Regions from separate parts of the Homo sapiens genome. Here region 1 is linked to region 2. Evidence: promoter capture Hi-C in 16 types of primary human blood cells and fetal thymus (Javierre and others, 2016). All regions are on one chromosome and are shown on one strand. The core of a region is centred on a gene start or on the middle of the fragment in contact, and the rest is flanking DNA. Distances in the headings are between cores, read along the strand shown. Region 1 holds the start of OSTN (osteocrin). Region 2 holds the start of PYDC2 (pyrin domain containing 2).

Evidence for each region. The method cuts DNA at HindIII sites, captures the fragments that hold promoters and counts their contacts. A CHiCAGO score of 5 or more calls a contact.
Region 1: the fragment with the promoter of OSTN here is called in contact with the fragment with the promoter of PYDC2 in region 2 in 17 of 17 cell types (total B cells, monocytes, neutrophils and 14 more); the score reaches 27.7 in total B cells.

The regions. Positions count from the first base shown.
Region 1 is chr3:191,197,896-191,200,595 of GRCh38, reverse strand. OSTN (osteocrin) reads right to left here and starts at 1,355. Exons shown (of 5, transcript NM_198184.2): 1 at 1,289-1,355. The HindIII fragment of the contact is 2,884 bases long and covers 1-2,603 here.
Region 2 is chr3:191,459,734-191,462,433 of GRCh38, reverse strand. It overlaps PYDC2 (pyrin domain containing 2), which reads right to left and starts at 1,271. Exons shown (of 1, transcript NM_001083308.1): 1 at 978-1,271. The coding sequence starts at 1,271. The coding sequence ends at 978. All of the region lies in intron 1 of PYDC2-AS1 (PYDC2 antisense RNA 1), which reads right to left. The HindIII fragment of the contact is 8,936 bases long and covers 1-2,700 here.

The DNA of each region.
Region 1 (2,700 bases), core at 106-2,605, 260 kb after region 2:
CCTGCAGTTGTATAGGTGGATTATAGCAGAGCTAGAATGATATATTAGGATTTCTTACTTCGAGTTCTTTATTTTTGAGACAAGTTCAATTAATCTAATTTTATTAATCAAATGTTCAAATCATTGAGAGTATTTGTAAAAGAAGTTAAAATTATAGCCCTGAGGTTCCCGTGCCCAGTCAACTGAAGATATCTGCTTCTCTACTGCTCATTATTCAGTATATAAGAATCAGTTAAAAATCCTGAGAAATAAGGGGGAGAAAGCAAATGTCAACCTTAAACACTCTGAATAATTTTTGAATGAAGCCATAGTAAAATTCACTGACATGAAGGAGACCTGAACTGTTATCTACAGAAAGTGCTCCTTAGAAAAGTTCTGTAAGCGTGCTGAAGAGTAGTACCAAAGTAAGAGAAAACACAGAATGTCCCTGGTGTTTTTGGTATAACACTATCAATTCTATAACTTATATAGGCATTAAAATTACCATAATTCATTCTCAAAAATGTTAAATTTTTAGAAGGAAAACTCATAAACAAATAATAATCACATTCCTAAACCTATAGAGTCTGTTATTCAAAGAAACAACATTTGAATTGTTAGAACTGAATTCACTGAGTGCACACTAAACCTGAAATAAAATTTTAAATTTCTTCTCCAACAGAGCTCAAATGTATGTTTCAGATTAACTCTCAATTCAATCATTGAATAGCAAGAGCACTACAAATACTGAAGAACAGGCATACTCTAAGTCTACTCCAACTATGTTATTAATATCATATTTGCATATTTGACATATAAGGAGAAAAACAGAAGATGCATTAGGTTTTAAGAACATAAGAGATAGAATTTCATTAGTTTAGGGATGTTTCTTAAGCTCCAGTTTTGATAGAAATAATGAGGAAAAAACCTTTCTTTTTTACCTAGGTTGTTTAGACCACTCTTTTATATTAAACATTTTTCTAATATTACACAATTTTGAGGAAAGCAAAATAACGCTAATAACATATATATGTATAGAATTATTATTTTGCATTCACTTTCTGTTTGTTTTGAAATGGAAGAGAAAAGCAATCTTATAAATATGAAATATCTGAATAAGCAATTAGTTCTACCTTAAGTTTGCATTACAAAAATATCTTTGATTTTCTACTCATTTTAGAGAGGGAAATATTACCACTCTAATTTTAACAAAATCAAGATATAATCAAAACATTTAAAGAGTCTGTGAAAGTAAAAATAATAGTTAAAAGAAGCATTAAATCTTTATCAATTTTTACATATAACTTACCTCGTGAAAGATCAGGAGATTCTAACTTTAGAGTACTGTCTCTGCAGTTTCTCCAAAACTCAGCCCTGGTGGTGAGTTTTCTCTCTGAGTTTTTATAGTCTCAGTTATACACCCCTTACTCCAATCCCTGCCTTTGCTTTCTCTTACATCATTTCTACAGATTTTCCACTGAACATTTTCCCAAGCCTCTCTTCGATCTCTTTCTCTCCCTCCCTCTCCCTTCCTTCTTCAGTTTCTCCCTCCCTCCTTTCCCTCCATATTTAGTCTATCTATTGCTTTGATCATGGCATTTAAATAACGATGGAAGTATAGGCTCTGGAAAATTTGAATATAGATTTAGTATTGTGTTCAGCTTCACACCCATCACCTCTTCCTGAGGTTTTAGTCAAGCTCTGATTATTACAAATCATATTTGGGAAATAAAATGCACTAAGATTTGTTAAAAAGTCACCAGGGAATTTCAATGTACGATATAGAGAGATTGTAATCAGACACAAACGGATTTATTGGTGTAATTTTTGGACCTTTAAATGATCAGCTATGGAAATAATGAGTACTTTCAGCCTCCGTCAGGTGCACAGTGCTGTGTCAGTGAAACACAATGACAGCTACTTCGTAATTAACATTGCTATACTGGGAAGGCTGTCACTAACAAACCTATAAATACTGAGCTGTGACATGTGAGCTATAAATGAAGACGTTGTAATCATTTTTGTCTTGCTCTTGTTCTTCAGTACTTTGATTTCTTTTTAACCAAAATATTTCTGCCTTTGGCTGAAGGTTTTCTTTCATTCTTATCTCCTACTAATTATATTTGCATCCTTACATACACAAATTATTTTTTAAATGAATTATTAAGTTATAAAGGTAACATGTTATGTTATTAGATCGTTAATGGCTCATTTGATTCACCAGAGGGTCCCCATCTGACAGGTAAAGAGGCCAAGGCTCAGATAAATTAAGTGACTTTATGAGATCACACACGTAAGAAGTAGTCGCAGAGCTGGATTTCAAATGCAGATCTTCCTAATTCCATATCCAGTTCTTTTCCCACGACTGCATTCTATCTCACTGCTTTAAAAGCTAGAAAAGAGAATCCAAACCAGATTATATTTTTGCACAAAAAGCAATAAATTTATTCTTTTTGGTTTCCCTAAAAAGGCCATTTAAAATACTAGTCACTAGTATAAGGACAATTACATGGTTAATTTGGATCTAGATGGGGAAACTGACCAGAGCACACAGAATTAGTGGGACAGTAAAATGCTTCATTTTTATGATGGGTTTCCAGGGATAACATATGTCTCAACAAGCTTGAAATTTGAGTAGTTGGCAGAGACAGTTCACAAATCAAGATAAAAATACAGCCTAATTGTGGACCCTTGTTTAGACATTACTGCCATAAAACAATT
Region 2 (2,700 bases), core at 22-2,521:
TGGTAAACATTCATTGTCTCATTTTTTGCATTTTTAACATTTATTGAGATATAATTCACATATCACACAACTCATTTAAAGAATACAATTAAATGTTTTTAGCTTATTCACAGATATGTACCATCATCACCATAGTTGATTTCAGAATATTCTCATCACCTCGAAAAGCAATCTTAAATGTTTTAGCTATTACTCCCTATTCCCCTCTACTCACCAACTCTCCTTCCCAGTCCTAAGCAACCTGTTATCTACTTCTGACTCTATAAATTTGGCCATTCTGAACTTTCCTATGAATGGAATCATATCATATGTGATGTGACCATATAATATTTTGTCTTTTATGACAGGCTTCTTTCATTTAGCATAGTGTTTTCAATGTTCATTCATGTTTAAGCATGTGATCAATACTTCATTTTTGTCGAATAATATTTCATTAGCTGCATATGCCACAATTTGTTTATTCATTTGTCCATTCACAGACATTAGGTTGTTTCCACCTTTTGGCTATTGTATACAATGACACTATAAACATTTGTGTTTATGTTTTTATTTCTCTTGATCATGTACTTATAAATATAATATTAGATCATATGAGAACTCTGTTTATCATTTGAGAAATTGCCATCCTGTTTTCCAAAGTGGCTGCACAATTTCACATTTCCATAAGCAGTATATGAGGATTCTAGTTTCTCCACATCTGTGCCAATACTTGTTATTATCTTTCTATTCTAGCCAGCCTAGTGGATATGAAGTGGTATCTCATCATAGTTTTGATTTGCATTTCCCTGAATACTAAAGTTGTCAGGCATCTTTTCTTTTAATGTTTGTGAATTATTTCACCTTTATTTATCTCAAAATACTGGTGATATAGATATTTCATATATAACAAGGTTAAGCAACATGTGCATGTAAAATGGAGGCAGAACCAAGGCTAAAGCAACATCTAGCTCAGCCATCAACTCACTATCCCTGAGGGGTTAAGGTGGGGGCATCACACAGTGTTCATCAGCTCTCCCAGACAGATGCGTTTGATTCATCTTTTCAAAGACCTGGATGGCTGCCATCCCTGCCCAGTAGCTGCAGGAGTGGCTGGTGAAGATTTCTACCAGTTGCTTCCCATTAGCCTTGTCTACCTCTGTCTGGGGGACGGTCTGTAGCTCCTTTCCCAGGGAGATTGTTCTGATCAGAGACTTGAACTTGCTCAACTCATCCTGGCTGAGCTGCTCCAGAAGAGCCTGCAGGTTGAAGTCCAGCTCTGCAGAAGATGCCATCTTGTCCTATGTGGGAGCTCTCCCAACGCCTGGCCCTATGCTCTGGTTCTCACATTTTTTCATATACTAATAAGTATATATTTTTATATCTTTTTAGAAGAAATATCAGTTCAGATTTTTGCTCATTATAAAATTGCGTTATTGTCTTTTTATTGCTGAGTTGTAAGAGTTCTTTATATAGTCTAGGGACAGGTCCTTCATTAGATACGCGATACGCAAATTTTTGCTCCCATTCTGTGAGTTGTCTTATCAGTTTAATGATGGTGTCCTTTAAGGTACAAATGTTTTTCATTTTGATGAAATCAAATTTATCTATTTTTTTCTTATTTTTTATGCTTTTGATGTCATGTCTAAGAATCTTTTGCCAAGTCTCAGGTCATAAAGATGTACCCCTATCATTTACTATAAGAATATTACAGCTTTAACTCTTACATTTGGGTATTTGATATATTTTGAGTTAATTTTTGTATGTGGCATGAAATAGAGGTCCAACTTTATTCTTCTGCATGTAGAAATCTACTTGCCTAAGCATCATTTGTTGAAAAGTCTATTCTTTCCCCATTGTACGGTCTTGAAACCCTTGTTGAAAGTCAGTTGACCACAGATGTACGGGCTTATTTTTGGACTCTCAGTTCTGTTTTATTGAGCAATGTGCCTATCCTTATGCCAGTACCACATTATCTTAATTACCATTAAGATGCTAAGTCATGAAATGAGGAAATACTAAATAAATTACTAAGTCATGAAATAAGGAAAGGTGAATTGTCTTTGTTTGCTCTTATTTTTCAATATCATCTTGGCTGTACTGGGTCTATGCGATACTACTTGAATTTTCTAACTAGTTTGCCCATTTCTACATAAAGTAAGCTGAGGTTCTGACAGGGATTGTATTGAATCTGTAGATCAGTTTGGGGAGTAGTGCCATCTTAACAATGTAAATTAAGCCTTCCAATCTATAAACACGAGATGCTTTCCACTTATTTAGCTCTTTAATTTCTCTCAATAATGTCTTGTAATTTTCAGAGCATAAGTTTTACTTCTTTGTTAAAATTTATTTCTAGGTATTTTATTCTTTTTGATATGATTCTAAAAGGAATTGTTTTAATTTCAGTTTTGGACTGTTCATTACAAGTGTGTAGAAGAAAAACTGATTTTTATGTATGATCTTGTATCCTGAAACCTGGATGAACTCATTTAATAGTTCTAACAGGTTTCGAGTGAATTTTTTAGGATTTCCTATATACAAGATTATGTTATCTGCTAATACAGACACTTTCACTTCCATTCCAATCCAGTTGCCTTTCTTATCTTGTCTAGTTGCTAGGGCTAGCACCACTAATGTAATGTTGTATGGTCATGCTAAGAGCAGATAGCATTGAGATGGTCCTGATTTTAGGACAAAAATCATTTTTCCATTAAATATAATTTT